Regions from separate parts of the Homo sapiens genome. Here region 2 is linked to region 1. The links are contacts of gene promoters, found by promoter capture Hi-C in blood cells and fetal thymus (Javierre and others, 2016). All regions are on one chromosome and are shown on one strand. The core of a region is centred on a gene start or on the middle of the fragment in contact, and the rest is flanking DNA. Distances in the headings are between cores, read along the strand shown.

Region 1 (6,829 bases), core at 2,489-4,988:
AAGAGATGCCAATGAAAAATGTGACTCATTTTTGAGGGTGACTTTAGAAAAGATCTGAGCAGAGCTTTGGCTTCACAGAGGCCAGAGTGCATCCTGGGAGGTCACTGAAGAGGCAGGGCAAAATCCAGGTGAAAGGAGGTGGTGTCTGGACCAGGGTGCAGAGAATGGAATTAGATAGAAGAGTTCTAATTCATCACAGTGGCATTCCTTGGTGGTGGGTTGCATATCCATTCAATCAAGTAGCTATTTAGTGAGCACCTACCATGTGCTGGGCATTCTTTTGGGTACTGGGTACAACAGAGGAAGGAACAGGAATTAGTCAAGGATGGTGCTCAAATGTATGGCTTTTGTAATGGGAAGATGGTGATACCATTTCCTTAGACAGGAACTCCTGTGAGAGTGCTGATGGGGAGGAGAAGGTCATGAGTCATTTTGCATTGGAGGTGCCTGTGGGACATCCAAGTGGAGGCGTCAAGTGGCCAGGTGGATACACAGATCCAGAACTCAACTGAGAGCTCCAGACTAGACATTGAAATACAGGAATCCTCTGCATTTTGACTGTGGCTGAAGCCATTATGTGGATAAGATCACTCAGCACAAAATATATGGTTTGAGGGTCCAGGAGGGAAGAATTGCTCTGAAAAAAAGAGAGAGAGAAAAAAAGACCAGCCAGAGAAGCAGAAGGAAAATCAAGGCAGTCTTACATCACAAAAGCTAAGGGAAATAAGTATTTTGAGAAGGAGGAAGTGGTCGACTGTGTCAATTGCTATCCAATTTCCCAAGATCATGTAGCTAATAAGGGGCAGAATGGAAATTTAAAACCAGGTCTACCTATATAATAAACAGAACCTGGGCAAACGGCTAGGCATCTGGAAACAAGATCAGACCCCTACCTCACACCACATGCAAGTATACATTTTAGCCGAGATAAAGATCTAAAAGTAAAACACAAAATAATCTTTTTTAAATAGAAAAAGTTTTACAATCTTAGTGTGAAAAGTCCCTCTTAAGGCAAGACAGGAAACACAGAAACCATAAAAGAAAAACCTAGATATTTTTTTAACAGATTAGAGGAAAGGGTTTACAGCACATTTGATAAGACATAGGGTTAATATCCCCCATATACAACTCAACAAGAAAATGATCAGAAGAGATGAACAGACAGTTTGAAGATGGATGCTGATAGCCATAAATATGTAAAAAGATAATCACCTCTCTAATGTTCAAGGAAATGCAAATAAAGCAATAATGAGATCTTGTTCTTTGGATTAGTAAAACATTTAAAAACTGATCATATTGTGGGAAAAATATATACTAAAATCTTTTTGGTATTGTATTTACCAATTCCTATTAAAATTTTAAGTGTAGCTCTACTTCTTAATCCAGGCACTGGATACACAGGTGGATTCACTTCGTGAACACTCATAAGCTCACTACTCTATTAAGTCTATCAACTCTATAAAAAATGTGTTTACACACTTTTTATATTACATTATTCTTTAATGCTTCTAAAAAAACTGAAATACACAAAATGTACACACCCAAGAAGTCAAAAATCCCAATTATGGGATTCTTTTGTTCATTTTGCAAATAATAACAAAAAGGCAAACAACCCAATTTTTTTTAATGGGCAATGGATATGAACAGGTAATTGACAAAAGAGCAAGCCCAAATATAGACAGCAAATACAGAAAAATACCCAGTCTCCTGAGTGGGTATAAAAATGCCAAAGGAGCTGTCACTTTATACTTATAAATTTAAGAAGTGATAACACTGGCCAGGCAAGGTGGCTCATGCCTGTAATCCCAGCACTTTGGGAGGCTGAGGTGGGTGGATCACCTGAGCTCAGGAGTTCGAGATCAGCTTGGCCAACATGGCGAAACCCCATCTCTACTACAAATACAAAAATTAGCCAGGTGTGGTGGCACATGCCTGTAATCCCAGCTACCTGGGAGGCTGAGGCAGGAGAATGGCTTGAACCCAGGAGGTGGAGGTTTACAGTGAGACAAGATCGTGCCACTGCATTCCAGCCTGAGTGACAGAGCGAGACTCTGACTCAAAAAAAAAAAAAAAAAAGTGATAACACCCACTTCTGGGGTCGGGGTGAGGAGGCTCCAAAACATTACTGGTGAAAAATATGAATTATTAATGGCTTTTTGGGGAAAATGATCTGGTAATATTAATTAAATATGTATACTCATTGACCTAATAACTCTGTGTTTATAATTTACTTATAAATGCACCAGTGCATAGGGATATATGTCTGAAAATATTTTGCGTAGTGTGGAGAAAATACTGGAAAACCTTCAAAAACTAAAAGATCCACAATGCTGAACTGATACTATAGCATATTGTGCAACTATTATAAAGAATAAATTAGAATTAGATGTACTGCCCTGGTGAGATGCCCATGAAATATTAGGTGACAAAAGGTAAATTGATGCACATGGTTTTGATTTTTTTTTTTAATGTCCTTATATAAGTTTGTAGGGAGGAGAATACGGTTTATAACTCTGCAGGCAGAAAGCCTGTAGCCAAACCCTGGCTTCATCACCTCCTGTATGTGATCATCCCCCCGGGCCTCAGTTCCGTCAACTGTAAGAGGGGTTAATAATAACATGGATCTGGCAAGCTTGTCGTTGAGTATATGATAATTTCTGAAAAGTGCTACAGATGCCTGGTGCACAATTCAGTAACAGCATGAGTACAATGTATATGAGAAGGCAGAACACAGAAGATGAAAACACACCACACAGGTCAGGCACGGTGGCTCATGCCTATAGTAATCCCAGCACTCTGGAACACTGGCAGGTGGCTCACCTGAGGTCAGGAGTTCGACACCAGCCAGGCCAACATGGCAAAACCCCGTCTCTACCAAAAATATAAAAATTAGCTGGGCGTGGTGGTGTGCACTTGTAATCCCAGCTACTCAGGAGGCTGAGGCAGGAGAATCACTTGAAGCCAGGAGGCGGAGGTTGCAGTGGCCCAAGATCGCACCATTGCACTCCAGCCTGGGTGACAAGAGCAAAACTCCATCTCAAAAAAAAAAAAAAAAAAAAAGGAAAATATTATTTATAAAATAGAAAATTAAAAAAAAAATTTTAAATACACATTTTTAAAAACCACTTGCAGGCTCTCACACACTGCATATCCAGGATTCACATGCAGGCAGCCTGGCTCTAGACGCGGGGCTCCAGTGCCTCCGGTGTCTCAGCCCGTGACTTCCCTGCTCTCAACCTCAGTTTACTCCACTGTGAAATGGACTTCCAGATACTCACCTCTTGAGTTTGCTGCAAGCGTAAATGGCATCAGGCTTGGACCTGGGGGAAGGAAGTGTTTTTAAAATGGGTAGCTTTGTTACCTCAGTCCTTGCGGGGAGAAGATGTGCCAATGCCCCGGGCCTCTGCGATGTAAGTTCCTGTTGAGTTGTTCAATGTTCCACTGAGAGGAGAGACAAGCAGGACCGGGATCCCGGCCCCGGGTCTTCCAGAAACGGCGGGGCGAAGCGCCCAGGGGCCTGTGCGTCCCTCCCTGCTGAGCGAGGGGGCCTGTCATTGCCGTGGGCGTGACCCAGACCCCAACCACAGTGCATCCCGCCCTGGCCCAGCCAGAGAAGGAAGCTGAGTCTGGGGTCTGCTGGGCCAGCAGGAAGTCCCAGCAGGGTGTGAAGCAAGACTTTCCGGGCCACTCCTGGAATCCCCCAGCAGATAAAGGCGGCCCCTCCACCGGGCGCTCCTAGCGGTCTCCCGGACCCTGCCGCCCTGCCACTATGTCCCGCCGCTCTATGCTGCTTGCCTGGGCTCTCCCCAGCCTCCTTCGACTCGGAGCGGCTCAGGAGACAGAAGACCCGGCCTGCTGCAGCCCCATAGTGCCCCGGAACGAGTGGAAGGCCCTGGCATCAGAGTGCGCCCAGCACCTGAGCCTGCCCTTACGCTATGTGGTGGTATCGCACACGGCGGGCAGCAGCTGCAACACCCCCGCCTCGTGCCAGCAGCAGGCCCGGAATGTGCAGCACTACCACATGAAGACACTGGGCTGGTGCGACGTGGGCTACAAGTGAGTGTGGCAGGGGGGCACGGGCTGGACTGGGGATCCCAGAGGCAAAGGTGTGCAAGTGCCCGCCAGCGGGACCATTTCTAGGCCTGGTGCTGAGGCCACCTGGCTGACACCCTGAGCAGCTTACTGAACCTCACAAGGTCATTTCTTCCTCGGGTCACCACGTGGGCCGGGGCAGGTGCTCACAGCACAAAGATGCGTGAGAAGGGGGGATGGGCTGAAATCCAAGCCCCGCTCCCGCTCCCGGGAAGAAGGGGCAGGCTTTGCCTAACACACACCAAGGTGTCCGCGACGCCTTATGAAGGCGCCCCTTCCTGATGCCTGGTGCCTTTGTTAGGAGGCGGAAAACCAGGCTGACTCAGTGCGGAGCTGGGTTCCAGGGTCAGCTCATCTTATTGCTGGCTGAGGCCTGGGGCGGGTCCTCCCGGCTTCAGCTTCCTCCTCGGCAAAGTCAATGGAATCGCGGCCCATCTGCTCCTTATATGAGCCAATACAGGCAAAGCACCTAGGAACTGCCTGGCACACGGGGGCCCGCAAAGCCACGGGCTATTACCATTAGGCACCTACTATGTGCCAGGCAGTGTGCCAGATGTGGCATGGAGAACGGTGCCACTCTAGCCTCCTGGGGTTGAAAGACCAGCAGGGAGAAACAAGCCAAGGCCACAGGTGAATTCAGACGGTGATAGAGGCGATGGATAAAAGGAAAGAGGTGAGGGAGGGTGACCTCAGGCTGGGACCAGACCCACACAGGCTCCTTGGAAGGGTGGGGCAAGGGAAAGCCTCCCTGAGAGTGGCTGCCTTGGCTCTGGGATGGGGGAGCAGACAGAGGCCTGCAGGTGGCAGGGGGTGCTGGGGGCAAAGCCAACGGGGTTGAGTGGGCGGGTCCTGTGGGAAGGACAGGGTGGCTGAACACAGCCGGGCGAGCGGAATGAAATGAGGAAAGGGCAGGACCAGGCAGGGCTTTGTGGACCACAGTGAGGACTGTAGCTTTTACTCCGAGATGGGAGCCATGGGAGGCTTCCCCCCGCAGAGCAGGGACCAGGGCTAGTGTAGGTACAAGAGACTCCCTCTGGCTGCTGTGGGGAGAACAGACTGTAAGGGGTGCCGGCTGAAGCAGGCTGAAGCAGGTCCGGGGCCACGCCTACCAGCTACCTCCTCCTTAGAATGGGCTGCAGTCCAGCCTGACGGTTTCCACAGGGAGGGAACTTTCAATCCTGCAGGCTCTCAGACCCAGGTAAGCATCAGAATCTCCTGCAGAGCTTATTGGAGGAACATGCAGGTCCCCAGAGACCACTTCAATAGACCCCACCCAGGGGACACATGTTCTCAGGACCTCCTAAGGCTGTGTCTCACACACACACACACACAAAACCCACCCAGAGAAGTCTAGAAGTGTCCAAAGGTATTCCCAGCCCTTCCAGTTCAAGATTTTATCAAAGACTCCAACTTCAACATTTTGTTTCCAAGACTCAGGCGCTCTGATCCTAAGTGTTCCCATGAGGTCACGAAGGCCCGAGCCTCGGGTCCACATCACCACATACAGAAGCAGCCGCTGTCTGGCCCTCAGCTTTTAGGATTCCGAATCTGGTTCTAACGTTCTGAATCCCCTTTCCATGTCACGTCACCTTCTCTCTCTGAGCCTCGTTTCTTCACCTGTAAATGGGGCTTCTGACTGTACCCGCTTGGCGATGGTGGCTGAGGTTTCAATGAGATGCATTCATGCAACAAATGACCAGGGAGAACCAACCACCCCCGACCCCAGCACCATCATGCCAGGCTCCGGGAATATGGCAGGGCCATAACCAGCCAGTCCCAGCAGCCAGCATCACCAGCAGGGCCATAACCAGCCAGTCCCAGCAGCCAGCATCACTGGGGCCAGATTCTGGGAGCTGGCTTCCTAAGCAGCAGATTCGGGACTCAAGATTCGGAAGTTCCGACATTCTGTGCGTCATTAATGACACTGTGAGCGCGGGGGCTGAGTTGGCACATACTGCAGCTCCAAGGCACTGATCTTCTAGTTCATTCCCATTTGCCAAGTCAGACACGCTCAATCAGATGTGCTGAATGAATCAGCCTTAAGGATCTGCTGCCAGGCTTGGGAACCTCAAAGAGGCAGGTGCTGGGGCTCCAGGGTCGGTATCTGGTTACGACCCCAACTTTGAGTCTGTGATCCTGTCCCCCAGTGGACCCCGAGGGCAGGAAGCAAGCTGGGGCAAAGGCAGAGTTCTGAGAGGCAGGGGGCTCTGAGTAGCTTGTACAAATTATGTCGCTTTCTGAGTCTCTGCTCTCTCTGCTTAAGATGAGGATGATAAGAGTCCCTGCCTTGGCTGGGCACGGTGACTCATGCTTGTAATCCCAGCACTTTGGGAGGCCAAAGGCGGGCAGATCACCTGAGGTCGGGAGTTCGAGACCAGCCTGGCCAACATGGTGAAACCCCATCTCTACTAATAATACAAAAATTAGCCGGGTGTGGTGGCTCATGCTTGTAATCCCAGGTACTCAGGAGGCTGAGGCACGAGAATCACTTGAACCCAGGAGGCAGAGGTTGCGGTGAGCTGAGATCACGCCACTGCACTCCAGCCTGAGCAACAAGAGTGAAACCCCGTCTTAAAAAAAAAAAAAAAAAAAAGTCTCTGCCTCAGAGGGCTGTCCTGCAAGGATTCAGTAAAACAGGACTTCCACAAATCCTCTAGGGAGGCAGGAGAGAGCAACGCACAAGATCACATGGGTGGGGACCATGGAGGCCTGGTTAAAAACCCCAGCTGTGCCCCAG
Region 2 (6,829 bases), core at 1,088-3,587, 480 kb before region 1:
CAGTGTGAGCTGAGATCGCTCCACTGCACTCCAGCCTGGGTGACAGAGTGAGACTCCATCTCAAAAAAAAAAAAAAAATACCGAACACCCCATCATCCCAGAAAGTTCCTGCATGTTCCTTTCCAGCCAGTCCCCGAACTCCAGAGGCAAGCACTGCTCTGATTTTTTTCCACCATAGGTTATAGTTTTGCCTGTCCTAGAATGTCATACAAATGGAATCATAGAAAGATGTATGCTTTTAGCTAAGTGCGGTGGCTCACACCTGTAATCTTAGCACTTTGGGAGGCCGAGGCGGGTGGATCACCTGAAGTTGGGAGTTTGAGACCAGCCTGACCAACATGGAGAAACCCCGTCTCTACTAAAAATACAAAATTAGCCAGGCATGGAGGTGCATGCTTGCAATCCCAGCTACTCGGGAGGCTGAGGCAGCAGAATTACTTGAACCCAGGAGGCGGAGGTCGTGGTGAGTTGAGATTGTGCCATTGCACTCCCACCTGGGCAACAAGAGCAAAACTCCCATCTCAAAAAAAAAAAAGATGTACACTTTTGTGTCTTGCTTCTTTACTCATGAGGCTATCTTGAACTTAAACCAGGGTCTTTTTCCAAGGAAAAGCTTTTTCTGGCATTGTCCATCTCTTGACTAATTCCTTCCTTCTCAGGCCGGTGTCCCAAGGGTCCAGTCATGCAAACTATTTGAAAAACTAAAGACTTTTTTATGTGGTCCCCTGGGATACTCTGGTCTTTGGAGACCTCTTCATTCCTTGTCTTAAAGCAGACCCTGGTCAACTTGGGTCACTAGCTGTTTCCTCCCAGGAGTGGTGTTTTTTTTGTTTTGTTTTGTTTTGTTTTAACGGAGCTTCCCTCTTGTCATCCAGGCTGGAGTGCAGCAGTGGCACGATCTTGGCTCACTACAATCTCCACCTTCTGGGTTCAAGTGATTCTCCTGCCTCAGCCTCCTGAATAGCTGGGATTACAGGTGCCCGCGCCGTGCCCAGCTAATTTTTGTATTTTTACTAAGACGGGGTTTTACCATGTTTGCCAGGCTGGTCTCAAACTCCTGACCTCAAGTGATCCGCCCTCCTCGGCCTCCCAAAGTGCTGGGATTACAGGCGTGAGCCGCGGGGCCCCGCCCCAGGAGTGGGTTTTATCCCTTGGGACCTTGATTTTGTTTCTCACAACCCCTCCGGCCCCCCAGAGCCATTACTCGTCCTACAGCACCTCATGTGTCTCCTCCTTGGTGCATGTCACATCTTACTGAATGCTTGCTTTTATTGTTTTTCATTTGTGTGTGTGTGTGTGTGTGTGTGTGTGTGTGTGTGTGTGTGTTTTGAGACAGAGTCTCATTCTGTCGCTCAGGCTGGAGTGCAGTGGTGCGATCTCAGCTCACTGCAACCTCTACTTTCTGGGGTTTAAGTGATTCTTCTGCCGCAGCCCCCTGTGTAGCTGGGATTGCAGGCACCCACCATCATGCCCGGCTAACTTTTGCTTTTTTAGTAAAGATGGGGTTTCGCCATGTTGGCCAGGCTAGTCTCGAACTCCTGACCTCAGGTGATCCACCGGCCTCGGCCTCCCAAAGTGTTGGAATTACAGGCGTGAGCCACTGCGCCCAGCCCAGCTTTTTGTTTTCTTTTGCAAATAGTGGGTTAACATTTTTTAGCATTTTCTAAGGTGGAACATGATGAGGCTTGACTAAGGTTGAAATCCATATTTCATGGTCCGCTCTAGTGTGAATGGAATCACTGATACACTTCATCCTATATCTTGCTTCTCTGCAACAATAGAACATGGCCAGTTGCCAGGAAATACATTGGGACCCAGCTCACTGTTTTTCATCATCACATGAAAATCCACAGAAAGTCTGTGAAGTAATTTATTCACTCTTTTCATCATTATGAATTCGTAGTTATTAGTGGTTCATATCTGATCTCCCTATGATGTCAGCCAGGCCCTGGTCTGATGTAGTCACAGTCATATCCCACACGTGTGGGTTCTTTGTGTTTGCTAAATGATTAAATGAACAAATGAATGAATGAGTGCTGAGGAGGGATGGTGCTGCTGAAAGTCTGCCTAGTATCCCTGTTAGAATCAGAGGTTTGGAGCCAGACACGGTGGTTCACGCCTGTAATCCCAGCACTTTGGGAGGCCAAAGCGGGCAGATTATGAGGTCAAGAGATCGAGACCATCCTGGCCAACATGGTGAAACCCCGTCTCTACTAAAAATACAAAAGTTAGCTGGACGTGGTGGCAGGTGGCTGTAATCCCAGCTACTTGGGAGGCTGAGGCAGGAGAATCACTTGAACCCAGGAGGCGGAGGTTGCAGTGAGCCGAGATCACGCGACTGCGCTCCAGCCTGCTCACAGAGCAAGACTCCATCTCAAAAACAAACAAACAAACAAACAAAAGAATCAGAGGTTTGGAGTCACAGAGACCTGAGGTCAAATTGATGTCTCACCACTTCCCAGTTGTAAAAGACCTTCCACCCTGCGTGTGTGTGCACACACACACAGCCTCAGATTTCTCATCTGGGAAATAGAGATAATAATGGGGCTGGCTTTACATGACTGTGGTGAAGATTAAATGAAGCAATATATTAAAGGCTATTCTAGCCAATGTCTGGCATAAGATCATCCCTTGGCATGGTGTGTGTGATGTTATAATTCCTCCTTTCCTTTCTTCCTCCATCTGTTCAATACAAGATTTACTGAGCACCATGTTATACTATCCTCTTTGTATTATAGAAATGTTATTCACATTTAACAATATATTATTGGAGCAACAGAAAGAGCTAAAATACCTTTAGGAATTGCATTGGGCTCTGTTCAAAAAAGTCAACAATTAGCCGGGTGCGGTGGCTCACGCCTGTAATCCCAGCACTTTGGGAGGCCAAGGCGGGCGGATCACAGGTCAGGAGATCGAGACCATCCTGGCTAACACAGTGAAACCCTGTCTCTACTAAAAATACAAAAAATTAGCCGGGTGTGGTGGCGGGCGCCTGTAGTTCCAGCTACTCAGGAGGCTGAGGCAGGAGAACGGCGTGAACCCAGGAGGCAGAGCTTATAGTGAGCCGAGATAGTGCCACTGCACTCCAGCCTGTGCAACAGAGCGAGACTGTCTAAAAAAAAAAAAAAAGTCAACAGTTGTGGTGGTAAAAGCACAAACAGCAATGAGAAAATGGGAAAACACTATGAACAGGATATTTAAAGAAGGGGATTTCCAAATAAACTAAAAAAGAGATGTGCAAACTCATTTGTAGTTGGAGAACAATGAGCTACCACCTTATGCCCATGAGATGGGCAAATCCTAGAAGCCTGGACAATCTCCAGAGGTGGGAGTGGGCACTGGGGGCACAGGAATCCTCATATGTGAGCAAATAGGGACATTCATTGCACTGAGTGACTTGTAGGACTTGGTAGAGTTAGGAATACGCAGACCCTAGTCAGGCGCAGTGGCCCATGCTGTAATCCGGCACTTTGAGAGGCTTAGGAAGGAGAATTGCTTGAGCCCAGGAGTTCGAGACCAGCCCAGACAACATAGTGAGACCCTATCTCTACAAAAATTTTTTTAAAATAAGCAAGACGTGGTGGTGCATACCTGTAGTCTCAGCTACCCAGGAGGCTAAGGCAAGAGGATCACCTGAGTGCAGGAAGTCAAGGCTGTTGTGAGCCATGATGGCTACTGTCACTCGGTGACAAAAATAAATAAATAAATAAAGGAATATGCAGACCCAAGCAATTCTGCTCCTGGGACCTATGCCAAGGGCAGTCTCAGTGTCTCATTCTCATTCAACATCATAAGAAAATGTGTACAAGAACATTTATGGTAGAGTATTTGTGCTGTGTGTATGTGGGAGCAGGAGATGGATCTGGGTGTGCACTGGTTACTTTCGCTGTGTAACAAACCAACCCTCACTTAGTGTCATAAAGCAGCAACATCTCATTATGCCCATAGATTCCATGGGTCCATAGTTATGAAAGGGGATGGCTTCTTTTGGCCCCATAATGTGTGGGGCCACAGCTGGGATGACCCCAATGGCTAGGGTCTGGAATCATCTGGAAGCTTCATCACTCATATGTCCGGTGCCTGGTTTGAGATGATTTGAAGACTGGACTTAGTTGGAGCTGTTGACTTGAGCACCTACATGCAGAGCTCTCCATGTGAGTTGGGCTTCCTCACGGCATGGCAGCTAAGTTCCAAGCAGTAATTATTCCAGAAGAACCAGGCAAAAGCCTTTTATAACTAACCTTGGAAGTCACCTAGCATCCAGCTAACCTTGAAAGACACAGAGCAAGTGGATGTACACTAGCAGTTGAGGTAGTCACAAACTCACCCAGATTCAGCTTCAAGGAAAGAGGAGGTAGATCTCACCTCTCAGCAGAGTTAAAGAACTTGCAGCAATGTTTAACAACCATGCAGCCCCATTCAGCAGGTGAAATTACCAGCAAGATACAGAACTGGGATCAATCTTAGACACGTTACTGCTGAGTGCTAAAAAAAAAAAAAAAGAAAGAAAACCGCACACACACACACACACACACACACACACACACACACACACACACAAAAACCATGAGAAACAAAAAGAGATAGATCATGGAAAACAAGTTATGCAAATTTAGCCTAGATGCCCCCAAACAGCAATGCACATTTTGCAGGAACACATGAAAATAAAAGGACAGCCATCACAAAATGAAAAGTGAAAAGGAATGGGAGAGGGGGATGAAGATAAAATGGCATTTCTAAGACGTGGAGGCAGGCGGAGTTGACAGCTCCTTGGATGTAAACGTGTTGAAAGGCAGACCTGCCATTCGTCACCCTCCAGACACACGGGAGGTAAATTGATTTTGTGTTGAGGATGTGCTGATCTGGTTTCCCTGGCAACACTGCTCTGAGGCGAAAAGAGAGGAGCAGAAAGACAACGGAGGGGAGATGGGAGATGAGTCTGCAGTGCACCTAACTCCCATGATTCAACTGTAACTTGCTGGAGAAACACGCACACACACACATGCACACACACACGCACACACACATGCACACACACACGCACACACACACATGCACACACACACGCACGCACACACACGCCCGGCTGAAAAATATGGTTTTTCTGTTTTGGGCCCTAGGGAACATTGTGTTATATTCTCGAGTATGTATATTCTCCAACGATTTGGTCTCAGGACCTCTCAAATTATTAAGAATTATCAAGGACCCTAAAGAGCGTTTGTTTATGTGGGTTATATGTGTCGATATTTACTCTATTAGGAATCTCTCCTGATAAATTAAAAGAATATGGTATTTGTTAACCCTTTCAAAAATAGTGAGCCATGATTGAGCCATTGCACCCCACCTGGGTGACAGAGTAAGACCCTGTCTCAAAAAAAAAAAAAAAAAAAAAACGAGAGAGAGAGAAAAGAATAGACCCTGAGCCCCAGGCCCCGTGCACGTAAGATCTAACGGTGACCAGCCAAGTAGGGCCATCTGGAGCCTGAAAATCTCCTGCCTAGTAACAAACATGTTACACACTCATGTAGATAACATATATAAATAGGTTTTTTTTTTTTGAGACAGGGTCTCACTCTGTTTCCCAGGCTGAAGTGCGGTGGCACAATCATGGTTCACTGCAGCCTCAAACCTCCCAGGTTCAAGCAATTCTCCTACCTCAGCCTCCCCAGTAGCTGGTATTACAGGCATGGGCCACCACAACTGACTAATTTTTCTCGTATTTTTTGTAGAGATGGGGTCTCCTTATGTTGTCCAGGCTGGTCTCGAACTCCTGGGCTCAGGCAATCCTCCTGTCTTGGTCTCCCAAAGTACTGGGATAACAGGTATGAGCCACCTTGCCTAGCCCTAAAAATAGATATATTTCCCAAAACAAAACAAAGTTAGTGAGAAGAGTGGCACTGTAGTATTTTGGTGTTTTTCAACTCACTTTGATATCTGGCTCAACAATCCTTGACCTGCCTCCTGGTTCAGTCAGCTGCAATACGGCACGGCATGTAGCCTCTGGAAAATTCCACTGAACACTGGTAAGAGAGTAAGAGTGAAAAGACAAATAATGGTTTAGTATTATGAAAATGGTTTTTATCTGATGGATGCCCTGGAATGTCCTTGCAACCCGTAGAGGTCCCCAGACCACACTTTGAGAACCCTTGCTCTGGCCGGGGGCGGTGGCTCACACCTGTAATCCCAGCACTTTGGGAGGCTGAGGCGGGCGGATCACGAGGTCAGGAGATTGAGATCATCCTGGCTAACACGGTGAAACCCCGTCTCTACTAAAAAAATTAAAAAATTAGCCGGATGTGGTGGCAGGCACCTGTAGTCCCAGCTACTTGGGAGGCTGAGGGAGGAGAATGGCGTGAACCCGGGAGGCGGAGCTTGCAGTGAGCTGAGATTGCGCCACTGCACTCCAGCCTGGGCAACAGAGTGAGACTCCGTCTCGAAAAAAAAAAAACGAAAACAAAGAAAGAGAACCCTTGCTCCAATAGCGCCATTTCCAGTTAAGCAGATTCACTTGTATTTTTCTCGAACACAAAATGAGGGGGAGAAGAATTTCGAACAATTTTTTCAAGCGATCCTCCCACCTCAGTCTCCTGAGTTGCTGGGACTCCAAGTGCATGCCATCAGGCCCAGCTAATTTTTGTATTTTTAGTAGAGACGGGGTTTCACCATGTTGTCCAGGCTGGTCTTGAACTCCTGGCCTCATGTGATCCACCCGCCTCGGTCTCCCAAAGTGCTGGGATTACAGGCGTGAGCCACCACGCCCGGCCTTGAACGCTTTACGCCCTTTCTTCCAGCTGTTTCCATTGGAACCTTACAGGCAGTGGCTTGGTCA

Evidence for each region. The method cuts DNA at HindIII sites, captures the fragments that hold promoters and counts their contacts. A CHiCAGO score of 5 or more calls a contact.
Region 2: a contact is called between a fragment that was not itself captured here and the fragment with the promoter of PGLYRP1 in region 1, in 1 of 17 cell types (M2 macrophages). The highest score is 6.6, in M2 macrophages.

Annotation. Positions count from the first base shown.
Region 1 is chr19:46,019,962-46,026,790 of GRCh38, reverse strand. PGLYRP1 (peptidoglycan recognition protein 1) reads left to right here and starts at 3,738. Exons shown (of 3, transcript NM_005091.3): 1 at 3,738-4,056. The coding sequence starts at 3,770. RefSeq lists an enhancer at 4,245-5,130. The HindIII fragment of the contact is 5,413 bases long and covers 2,635-6,829 here.
Region 2 is chr19:46,502,242-46,509,070 of GRCh38, reverse strand. No RefSeq gene overlaps it. Among named protein-coding and RNA genes, the nearest start is that of PNMA8B, 9.8 kb to the right of the region's middle. The HindIII fragment of the contact is 3,443 bases long and covers 616-4,058 here.